2 separate regions of the Homo sapiens genome follow, and region 2 is linked to region 1. The links are contacts of gene promoters, found by promoter capture Hi-C in blood cells and fetal thymus (Javierre and others, 2016). All regions are on one chromosome and are shown on one strand. Each heading gives the region's core, a stretch centred on a gene start or on the middle of the fragment in contact. The rest is flanking DNA. Distances are from core to core; before and after follow the strand shown.

What was found. The method cuts DNA at HindIII sites, captures the fragments that hold promoters and counts their contacts. A CHiCAGO score of 5 or more calls a contact.
Region 2: a contact is called between a fragment that was not itself captured here and the fragment with the promoter of MYLK2 in region 1, in 1 of 17 cell types (megakaryocytes). The highest score is 6.6, in megakaryocytes.

Annotation. Positions count from the first base shown.
Region 1 is chr20:31,816,863-31,822,956 of GRCh38, reverse strand. MYLK2 (myosin light chain kinase 2) reads right to left here and starts at 3,601. Exons shown (of 13, transcript NM_033118.4): 1 at 3,529-3,601; 2 at 3,325-3,424; 3 at 2,411-2,831; 4 at 1,220-1,518. The coding sequence starts at 3,376. RefSeq lists enhancers at 187-246, 2,576-3,117. The HindIII fragment of the contact is 6,141 bases long and covers 1-4,135 here.
Region 2 is chr20:31,966,315-31,972,263 of GRCh38, reverse strand. It overlaps XKR7 (XK related 7), which reads right to left and starts at 4,113. Exons shown (of 3, transcript NM_001011718.2): 1 at 3,505-4,113. The coding sequence starts at 4,088. RefSeq lists silencers at 1-98, 3,663-3,840 and an enhancer at 1-188. The HindIII fragment of the contact is 802 bases long and covers 1,202-2,003 here.

The sequences.
Region 1 (6,094 bases), core at 2,352-4,851:
GCCCTGAAGGCTGGCAGGCCGGCAGGCGGTCATCAGGAATGGAAACCTCTTTATAAATAGCAAGAGGCGGCAGGGAAGCCGGGCTGGTGATAAATCAAACGGCCTTTGGAGGTGGTTCAGATCCTGTCACTCTAGGATGCGATTTCGGGGCGGGGCGGAGGTCTCTGCGGCTGCTAGGGGCGGAGGCAGGGCTCCTGGCTGCCGCCCAGCCGCCAGGTCCTCCCACCCTGTCTGGGTGGCACGGTGCCGCTCACCAGGCAGGCTGGCGGGTCTCCCAGGGCACTTCAGCCTGGAGGCAGGGGGGTGTCAGGACACTCTGGGTTCTCCTGACCCCATCTCACCCCACCCCCAGCCCTGCCGCACCCCTGCCCAGGCCCTTTCCCTATTCACCTGCTGGCCAAGCTCACTCACACTCAGTGCTCTCTGCAGCCCATGAACAAGCCACGGGCTGCTTGTCTAATCATCAATGAAGGCCACTCCACAGTCCTGCCCCATTGCACATGCCCAGCTTCCTTGGTCACTGCTCCCACACACAGGCACCTGTGCTCCTCAGCGCATGAGCCCTCTATAGCTCCCACGACCCCACCCCACTATACAGTTTAGCTACTAAGCCTGGCATTTGAGCCCTTCTACAGATTGACTCCAAATTCCATTGCCCAGGGAGTTTGTGTTGCTCCAATAATCTGCCTGATTTTTCTTTTTTTTAACTTCATTTTAGTCAAAGTAGAAAAAACTCAAAAGTGGGTTCTGGAGTCTGGGTGGCCTGACAGGTTCAAATCCTGTCTTCACTGGATATGTTTGGGCACTTCATTTTCCTTTTTCTGAGCCTTCCTTTCCCCATCTATCAAAAGGGAATACTAAATTTAAAAATAAAAATACATCTTAAAAAATAAGATTGAAGAAAGCCAGGTATGGTTGTACACGCCTGTAGTCCCAGCTACTCGGGAGGCCAAGGTGGGAGGATCACTTGAGGCTGGGAGTTTGAAGCCAGCCTGGGCAACGTAGCAAGACCCTATCTTTTAAAACAAATAAACAAATGAATAAACATACGTTAAAAAAGGAATACTTTCTGGAGTTGTGTGACCCTTAGATGAATGGGCCTGGGTAAGGCTTGGCTCAGGGCAGTTCAGACCTCCGAATAGGTAGACTTGGGACTGACAGCCCCCTTCCCTCCCCCTGGCCCCAGGGCAGCCCCAGCCCCCACCTGCCCCTGGCCTACCCAAAATCTGGAAGCAGTCCTCCTCCCTGGCTGTGAGACAGAGGGCCTGCCCCACCTCGGATTTCTCTGAGGGAACAGCCTGGAACTCAATCCCCCTCGAGGTGTCCCCTTGCATCTTAGCCTGGCCAGCCTGGCCTGGGGTTTTCTCTCCCACTTCCTTCTGGCTCTCTGCCAGGATGTTCTTTCCTTCTTCTGCCTTGGCTGGCCTGGGATCCGTGGGGCTGTGGGTCATGGGCACCCCTTCAAAGGTGAGCTCTGATGCCTCGCTTGGGGGCTTCTTGGCCAGCAGCTTCTCAGAACTAGAAGGTGAGAACACAGAGGTGAAGCCCTCAGCGGCCACAGCCTGTGGCATCAGGCAAGTCTCAATGCAATCTGCAGAGCTAATCCAACCCCACCCCAAATGCATGGTGTAATACAGCCAAATTCACCTGGTACAAAATTAAGGGATGTTCATGGCTGTGGTCATTATCTTGACTACCAACACACTAATACATCATTAATAACTATTAATAGGATTGTTGATATGGTTAATCATCATGTGGATACAACTAGGGAGTTATGTAGCTCTTGATTCATAAAATCTGTTGTGATATAATTGATACATAATTATCAAAGTGATATGGTAAATGTTCTTATTGTGGCTTACAATATATCATTAATGACCTCATTAGCATTCAGGTAAGTATAACTGATGGCATCACACATGTGCTATATTATGGTTATGAAAATATTATCAATGATCCTCCAATCTGGTTATTAGTCATCTTTTCATATCTTACCAATAATTATATTAAGAAGAACAGGAAAATACTGGATGTCCTAGGAAATACACAGCCTTTTGCCTGACACCTTTAGCCTTTCTGCCTGCCATCTCAACCCTGCCCTTGGCTAGACCCAAGCCCATGGAGTAAGGGGAACTTCGGACCCCAGAAGCCTAGAGAAGATATGTTCAACCTAGGCAGTCTTTGAGGGTCTCTCTTACTCCAGTCTTGTATGAATTGTGGCAGGGTTCTGGTTTCTGCAGGGGACAAGGCGGTAGAGGCAATTCACAGGACAGAGGAAACTGAATGTCAGAACTACACTCCCCAGCACTGAATGTGATGATAACCATGCCTAAGACAAGGGAATTAAGCAGGACCCCTAGGGACAGAACCACAGGACCCCTCCCCACTCCCAGGAGGGGATATTCACCTGGAGATGATGGCAGGACAGCTGGGGCTATGCAGAAAGGCAGGTGAGCCCCTCCTGGCTGCTGCTTGGCCCTCTGCTGCCTTCTTGCCCACCCTGGGCTTTCCAGGATCCTGGCTGCCTGAGGCTCCCTGCTCAGCCTTGGGCTTCTTGACGCTGGTCTCAGGTGTCGCAGTCTGCTGGGGCAGGGCTGCCGGGGGCCCAGCACTGCCCTCCGCGGGCCCCCCGCCCCTGTCACCCTCTCCTTTGGGGCCTTGGCTGCTAGTTGAGGGTTGGGCCAGGGTACCATCCCCTTTCTCTGAGGCAGGGGCTTTGGCATCTTTCTTCAGGGTGGGTGGATCCGGAGCTTTCTTTGGGTCTGGGGGGCCAGGGTCTTTCCCTGCAGCCAGGGGTCTTTCACCTGTGGGACCTTTAGGTGCCTTGTCTGCAGAGGAGGTGAGACACCCATCAGGATCCACCCTCCTTTCCTTCCCTCTCACCCAGGCTGGGCAGAGACCAGCTCTGGGCCCAGGTTCCCACCCAGGCAACAACTTGCAAATGCTTGTCCCACTGAGTCTCTGGGGCCACTTGATGGCCCCTAGAGATGAGCTGCCACGACCTTGGAGGGCCTCTGTGGGAGGCTTCCAGCCCTTTGGGTGGGCCTTGGTGGCCCCCATCATCCTTGCCCTGACTGTTTAGGTGCATCCCCAGCAGCCATCCCTGGTGGCTTCACATTTTCCTGGTCTCTCCAGGAAGGGCTTCATACAGGCCCTGGACCCAGCCCAACCCTAGCCAGAGATTCCTCTGATTTCTGGGTCCCCCGTGCACCATGCAAACAAGGCTGGGGCACAGAACTCCCACTGAGGAACCTGCCCAGTCCTGGATTCAAAACCCCCCTTCCCAAGCTCCTCCCTCCATCTCCTGCCCCAGCTTGGCACCTGTTGATGGGTTCTGAATTCCCAGCTCAACTGCTCCATTTTCTGTCGCCATGAGGTAGGGAGGCGTGTGCTGCTGCTTGTCTAACTCAAGTCTTTCTAGCTGCAGAAACAAGAGTGGAGTGTGTCAGGCTGTCCAATTTCCCCTCTCGTCTGGCTGCAGTGAGACAGGAAGCCGAGGCCTGCTAACTGAGGGGAGAGAGGTACCTGGAGCAAAGAGGGGCAACCTGGTTGCCGTCTGTCTCCCAGCGGCTGCTCAGGAGCAGTCCTGGGCAGTTGTAAGGGATTGGGCCGGGTGGGCAGAGGCGGAGGCAGGGGTGTGGGCAGTGGAGGCGGGGACGGAGGAGAGGATCTCTTACACCAGGGGCCATGCAGCTGGGACTGCCGCCACCTGTCACTCTTGGCCCCAGTTCAGAGGACACGGCATTCTTCCCATGGCCCGACTGGGGGGAGAATGATGTTGGAACAAGCGAGAAAAGGGAGGGGTATCTGGGACGCTGGGGGAGCAGCCCTTTCCCCAGGCCTTGCTCAGTATCCCTGACTTGGACAGGATCAGAGGGGGCCTGGAAGAAGGGGAGTACTCAGGCAGGCCTGAAGGGCAAGAGTATGCCCAGGCTGAGCCCTGGTCTGCCCACCTGTGTGCCACATCTCCTGGGGCTCCCCAGAACCTGGCTAGAGCCACAAAGTCCCAGGGATAATCTCCCTGACCCTAGTGCCTAGCTCTGTGCCTCGACATCTGGACCTGCTTGCGTCACCTTTGGGTAAGAAATTGTCTCGGGGGCACTTTCTCAACATGTCCATAGGCCTGGAAGCTTTTTCTTTTGAAACTGTCCTTTTCTTGGGCTCCTGGGGACACGGAGGCTGCCCTGAGTAGCCATGGGAGATGGAGAGTGCTCTGTGCCCCTCCCCCAAGCTCATCCAGTTCTCACCCATGACCCACATGGAAGAAGGGGGCTGGCAGAGAGTCTTTTCAAGGATGCTCCACTACAGGGGTGGCCCGAGGGGCACTCTAGCCTGAGGTGTTCGAGATAGGATGAGGACAGCTATGATCCAAGGAGCCTTCCATCACCCAGAGCCTTTCTCAGAGGGGGCTCTTGAGAACTGGCCAGACCTGGGTGCATTAGAAGTAGCTGTAGAGGCCAGAAGCAGTGGTTCACACCTGTAATCCCAACACTTTGGGAAGCTGAGGCAGGAGGATCACTCGAGGCCAGGAGTTGGAGACTGGCCTGGGCAACATAACAAGACCCCGTCTTTATATTTTAAAAAGTAAGATAAAATGAAGTAGCTGTAGAGTGGTTATCCAGGTTCAGGTCCTGACTGCAGCAAACCAGTCACTTCACTCCATGGCCTCGGCTCCTCTGTCAAATGGGAAGCCATTGGAAAAACGCTTGATGAGAGAAAGGAGGGAGAATGCAGCCCCTCTAAGCAGTGGGGAAATAGGAACCTGTAAAAAAAGATTGAGGAAGCTGTTAATGAACTGACAAAAAGTGACCACCAAAGTGGGGGGAATAAAAAAAGCAAGATGCAAAGTAGCATGTAGAGTGTGCTATCCATTTGTGCAAAAAAAAAAGGGAGAATAATATATGAATAATATATATTTCACTTTATGCACATAAGAATTTATTTGGTAGGATAAGCAAGGAACTGGGCCCCAAGGGTGGGAAGGAGACATCACTGTATATACTTTGACTTTTCTGTTTGAACCATGAACTATGTGAACAGGCTACTATTCAAAATGAGTGGGATGTTTTGTTTTGTGAGCAAATGTCAAGGGTTTTTGGTATAAGCTGGTAAAAACCATAGTTGGAGCTCTTTCCCCAGTCTTGACTACTTTTGCTCTGCCTGGCCCTCCTCTCCAGGCCCGGTCCTCCTCTCCTCCATTTCTCTTCTTTAAGGTCCAGTTAACAGTCTGCCTCTTCCAGGAAGCAAAAGTAACAGCTGATGCCTATACGGTACTGACCACGTGCCTGGCCTCGCTCTGCATGCTCTCATGTTGATCCACCCAAATGGTCTTCAGAAGAACCCAGTGCGGTAGGTACTAGAGAGATGGGGAAACCAAGGCATGGAGAGGTTATGTAATTTACTCAAAGTCACAGCTTGGAAGGGGCTGAACTGAGCTCTGAACCCAGGTCCCCTGCAGAAAGGGAGCTTCCACTTGCTGAGCACCTGTCATTCGTTTTAGCCATCTTGCCTTTAAGCATCATCTTGATGATAACTCTGTGGGGAGCGCTCATCTCATTTTCTGCATGAGGACGAGGAGAGTTAAAGGAATCAGTAGCTTGCCCAAAGTCACTCAGCAAGGAAGGGAGTTGAGCTTGGAATGTCGTTCTTCAAACTCCAAAGCCCTCTTCCCTTCCTAAAATGTCCCAGCCTGTGCCTTGCCCCCTTCTCCCTGCTGAGTAACCCCTTTGTGGATCTTGCAGCATTCAAAAGGTTGAAATGTTTCCTGTCCTAATGCGGATCATTAGGACCTCCTGGCCCTCTATCTGGCCCAGAGCATGTTTTAGTTTAATTTGGAATGTTGGGTCCCCTGCTTCTGGCCTCCCCACAGTGCCCCAGCTGATCCCACCATTGGTTGACACTGTCTGGGAGCCCCCTGAAGGCCAGGGGCTAAACACATCCCCAGCACAGAGTGGACTTGCCCATCAGTGTCTGATGAGTAAATAACTGATTAACCAGAAGGCTCCAGACTGGAGTTTGTTACCTCCCTATGCTGGACCTTGCTGGCATCTCCTTGTTATTATTGTGGTTATCAATACCAGTCATTTATTGA
Region 2 (5,949 bases), core at 353-2,852, 150 kb before region 1:
ATAAATGGGTATATCAATAGTCACCAGGGGGGAGGGTTTCAGAGTAACATGAGATCACATGCCTGAAACACTCACACAGGGCCTGTGGGGACACGGTAGGTGTGCAGTGTCTGTGTATGCTTTCTCCTCCTCTCTCTCTTCAGAGCTTCATTTTATGTTTAAATTAGTAATAAAATCTTCTGTGTGAAAAGACCTTATCAATTTGAAGAGCTAAACCAGAGGTTACAAAGAAGACAGGCTAATAAATATGTTTCCTTTGGTTGACACTATTTTTAAACATTTTAATTAGTAGTTAAATTTTGGAGAGTTCACGGAAAAATCCCAATTTCCCATTTCTCTTGAGAAATCAAGACTGGGTCCACGATTTCTCATGGCATGATCAGCTGGAGCTTCCCTTTTCCTCGGACACTACTTGCCCCTGAATGTCCTCTTGTCTGACACCCCTTGTATCTTATGGTCTTATGGTCTGTTACCTGCCTGGGTCCTCAAAGCATTTGAATTTTTAATTCAGGATTTTACAAGTCTAAGAGGTTGAAAAATATCTTCATGATTATAATTATTTTATTCAGAATTGAGGAAATGGGATCAGGAGGTGAGTGACTGCCTAGCCTCCCAGGTGTGATTCTGGAGGACTCAATCACACATCTCCCTCTTCATTACCCCAGGCCCCACCACTCAGAACATCTGTGGGAACATCTCACGTGGTAAGCAAATGTGCTGGGCCAACATTGCTTAATTTCTAGGAATGCCAGCCCCTGCAGCTTCTCTATACCTTCTCTGGGTTTTCCCTCCATTTATCCAGGCCCTTAGCCATTTTAGAATCCAAAGATTTTGGGGGCAAGGGCCCAGAGGCTTTTGCTTTGGCAATAGACCCAGAGTCAGAATTTCAGGAATGGGAAACTCTTAAGGTCATCACATTGAATCTCATTTCACACACAGGGAAACCGAGACCCAAAGATGGAAAGAGCCTTGCCCAAGGTCACCCAGCAAACTATAGTTACAAACTAGGATAAAGATGTCAGCCTCCTGACCAGACCACCCCCGAATCCAGCCTTTTCCCCACAATACACACTGTTCCCGTCCTCACCCACATAGTTCAACTCCCTGCCCCTCTTTTCACATTCTTATCTCAGTGCAACAGAAGCCCTGACTTTCTATCATACTGGAATCTTGGAATCTCAGATTCATACTTCTTTAAGCTTGAGGGACACTTTAGTGGCAGAATTACAAGGTGGATAAATTGAACTCAGGCTTTAAAGGCAGAGAGCCTGGAGTCTCAGCTCTTCAAGTTCCTAGCTGTGTGACCTTGGACAAGGATGCCCCCTCTCTGAGCCTCCATTCCCTCATCTGTCAAGTAGAAATTATAATGCTAACCACATGACAGGATGATTAGAAGGGGTACAGGAAATAAAGCAGGTAAAAAGGCAACCAGTAGGCTTGGCACAAAGTCAGTGTTTAATAAAATAATTGTTATAGAACTGTAAATTAGGGCTTTCATGTCTAAGTGAAATAGTACAGATATGATCAAAGGGAAAGATGGACAAATTAGAGCACATAGACTCTTTCTAAATTGTTACAGGATTGATACTGCTAGATCCAATTTTTTTAAAGGGAAGCTACGACTCTGGGTTTTTAAAATACTATGCAAGCCACACAAAACACTTCCACAAGCCACATTCAACCTAAGAGCTATTAGATTGTTATCCCTACAAACTTATCTCATCCCAGCCTCCTCATTTTGCAAATGGGAGATAGTAGAAATAGCTAGTCCTTTTATCCATATCCAAGAAACCATAGAGCTGAGGGGATCCTTAGCAATTCTAGCTACTCCCCTGGGACCCCACACCCATGGCCATTTTTGCCCTATTTGAGGGAAACTCAGTTTATGCTTAACAAAGAAGAGAAGTATTAGTTTCTTGTAAGTGGATTCTGAATGGGGGGATAGCCAGTGAGTCGAGGGGCATCTGGCCCACTTTAGGCTGAAGGAAAAGGGGGATGAAGCTTCCTACCAAGAATAGGAAGTTACCATTTCAGAATCTAAAAATATCTTTCACCATCTGTCCACTCGGGCACAGAATGATAAATGCAGATTAGTTCCTGGATGTAGACATGAATATTTTTATGTGTCACGCTAATAATAATAACACCACCTTGTGTGGATAGAGCTCCGCCCCCTTTTCCTCCAGGATAAGCTAAGTGGAATATACACATCATCTTGGCAGGAATAGATAGGGAAACAAAGGCAGAGAGATTCGACAACACAACAAGAGTGACACAGCAAGTGAGCAGCTGGGACAAACCCTAGGAGTCCTGTTTTCAACCCTCAGCCCCAAACTGAATCTTCTGAGTTAGGCAGAATGTGTTAACAAGTAGCAGAATAAATATAACAACAGCAGTAATCACCCTTTATATCTCTAGAGTGACTTTTTCCATGCTTTCCCCACACTCTTAAAATGTTACAGTCTGCAGGGCCCTCATGCAGACCTCTCACCTGACCATCCCAACAGGTAAGAATAATGCAATGATAAGACAATGAGATAAGAGGAGTAGGGATTCTCCCTCATTTCACAGAAGAGGAAACTGAGGCTTGGAAGGAGGAGGGCGGCTTGCCTAAGATCATATAGTAAGCAAGTTCATTCTGTTAGAGCACAGAAGGGCCTAAGCTACTAAATAGCAATTCAGATTCAAGAGGAGCCCTAGGTTTAGAATTCCTCCTCTCTCCACTTAACTCAGTGCAGCAGGCACCCTCAGTTCTGGCAGAGGAAGAAGACTGAAAGTGGGCAGCTTGAACAAAGCCTCAGTTTTGCCTTACCAGTTCGGGATTAAAGGGCAGCCAGTGGCCATCTAATCTCAGATTCAAGATTCCAAATCCCCTTGGCCCTGTTGGAAGGGGAGGACCCTTAGCTGGGGGAGAGGGGGTCATAGGAAGTAGAAGGAGCCTGAGGGCTCCCCAGTTGGGTCCAGCATATCTTTCTCCAAAAAGTCCAAGAAGTTTAGGCGGGATATTCATTTAGCTGTCTCAAATTCTGTGACTCTCCTTGCAGGTTGTGAATGAGCTGCAATTCTGAACTGAGGATCTTTGCGAGCAGGAAAGGACTTCTGAGATCTTTCCTGAGCCCAGGCTTGGCACTCAGGCAGAGAGGAGTGGGTTATGGCAGAATAGGGCCCTGTGGTCCTGTTTTAAGCTTCACATTTATCTTCATGAGCCCCGGGTCCTCCCCACTCACGCACACCCCTGAGGATCTCTTTCTCTCCTTTCTTGAACCATCCCCTCCCCTCTCGAAGGCCAGGTCAGACCGGATGGCACTGGGGTTGGTCAGGGCTTGGGGGCAGAGGTCAGGGAGAAGCCGACTGAGAAGAAATTAGAGCTGCAATGGGGTGGGGAGGGGGGGAGGTCAGGACAGGAGGGTAGCCCGGAAAGGTCAGATCAGGGCTGGGACGTCAGGTAGCCCTTCGCCACCCCCACTCCTCGGGCTCAGGTCCCTCCACCTGCGCTTCTCCTACCTCCAGACCTGGCCGAGCTGCAGGAGGTGGACGAGGGTCTGCAGCAGCCAGATGCAGAGGCGGCAGCAGCGGCGGCGGTAGGCGCTGGCCGAGGAGGGCGCAGGCTGGGGACCCGGCTCGGGGCTGCCTTCTTTGGTCCGGAAGGCGCCGGCGCTGTCCTTGGTGCTGATGGCGGCTCCGCCGGCTACGCTGTCCTTGGTGCTGACGGCGGGTCCCGGGGACCCTGCGGGCTCCGAGTAGTCGTAGACGAACCAGCGGAAGCTCAGTAACTGCACGACCAGCGAGGGCAGGAGCACGAACAGCAAGGTGAGGCTGAAGTAGGTGTGTTGATTCTGCAGGTAGTAGGAGGCCGCCAGCCACAGGTCCGTGGCACCGTCGGAGAAGAACACGAGCAGCGCGCACAGCACCCAGCAGCAGTCCCGCAGCTCGTAGCGCGGCCCCGGGCCGCCCGCCCCGACGACCCCCGGGGGCCCGGCCGCCGCCGCCGCCTCCCCGCGCCCGCCGGCACTGCCCCGGGCTCCACCGGCAGCCCCCTCCGGGTCCGGGCTGGCCGAGGCCGCCGCTCCATCCGACTTCGCGGCCATGTTGGCGGAGAGGGAGGCGGGGAGCGACTTCCGGGCGGCGGAGGGGGGTGCGGCGTGGGGAGGACCCTGCGCGGGCGGCTCCTCTTCCTCCTTCTCCTCTTCTTCCTCCTCCCCTCCACTTCAATTATTCATTCTCCTCGGCGCCGCCCCGCCCCGCCCCCACCCGCCTGAGCTGCGGCCGAAGGGGGGGCAGCCCCCGGGAATGCGGAAGCAGGGGAGGCGGGGCGCACCCCAGGTCACCCTCTCCCTCCTTCCTCGGAGGCGCGGGGCTCCAACCCCATGCTTTCTGTCTCTCATCTCCCCTCGGACTGCACTTCCTTCTTTTTTGTTTATCGCCTCCCCCTTCCCATTCTCTCCACTTCGTTTTTCTCCTGTGTTCACCTCCAGTGGCCTGGGTCTGACGGGGGGGTGGGTGGGGGACTTGGAAGAAAGGAGCTGGGGGACTTGGGCGGGCCCCCCAGTAACCCTTTAGCAGTCACTCCATGCTAACGCTCATTTCCAGTTTCCTGAGTGCTCACATATTGTTCCATCCCCTCCTTTGATCTTGAGGGGTCCCCTTTTCTTATTGTCTTCGTTTTGAAGCTGAGAAAGCTGCAGCTCTGAGTTGCTGTCTCTTCCTTACTCTCCGCTTTCCCTCTCTCGGGGACTGCCTTCATCTGGCTACAGCCCTAGTAGAGTAGGGGGAGGGAAGGGGACAACATCCAACATCAAGAGGAAAGGGATGGGAGGAAACACCGGGTGGAGGAAAGAGCAAGTGCAAAGGCCTGGAGGCCTGAGACTGGAGGGCATATCTTCAAGCAAGTCTGGATCTCAGATCCAGGGGAGGAGAAAGATGGGGAAGATAGGGCTGCAGAGTTCTGAGGATGAGATCCTAAGGGGCCAGAAGGTGGCCTTTATCCAGCAGGCAATGGGGAACCACTGCAGTATTTGAGCAGGGGAGTTATGTGGTCACATCAGGATTTAGAAAGAAGACCCAGCAGCCAGAGTAGAGAAGCGATCACAAGGAAGCAGCCTGGGGCTGGTGAGACCAGAAGGAGATTATAGCAGTAACCTATGAGAGGGGGTGGAGTTCCCACACATCCTGGATACCCCAAGCTCATTTCCCATCTCTGCCTTTGATCAGATTGGATGTATCCAGGCATTTATTATACAAACATCCATATAGTAGTGTCTCTTTGCCTGGCACTGTCCAAAACACTACAATTACTAACTCATTCTACCCTCACAATTTGTGAGGTAGCTCCTTTTTTCCTCCCATTTTACAGATGCAGAAACTAAGTCACAGAGAAATTAATTTGTTCAGGGTGACACAATTAGTAGCTACAGCCAAATTCATGCCCATCATCTGGCTCCAGAATAGGCTTTGCTACCCTTCAAGGGGAGGGAGAGAGGAGGGGCAAAGGGTAGGGGTTGAAGAAAGAGGAGCTGAGGAAGGGAAGTGGGAGAACCAACCTGCCTCAGAGTGGCAGGGAAGAGAGGATGAAAGGAGAGAGCTGCCCTGGGTCAGGAAGGAGAAGCCAACTGCAGTCCTGCAGCCTGGCATCCTTTTCATGCCCAGGGACTGTTTTGGTCTCAGCATGCTTAGGAGGTTGGGGTACCAGCTGTTGCCCAAGGCTGAAAACAGAGGGGAAAGAGTTAGGGATTAAGGGAGTTTTCCAGGATGGATTCAAGGCTGACAGTTGCCTATTGACAGGCATGTTTAGTGAGCAAGGGTGTTTGTGGGTCGGGCTGGAAGGTCTGAATCCCAGTGTAATTTAGAAAGGAATATCTCTGATTTTTCTTTCTCTCCCACAACCCTAGGCAGGGAGACTAATGAAGTGCACAGAGCCCTGGATGGTAGCGGGCAGGAGAGAAACTCTGG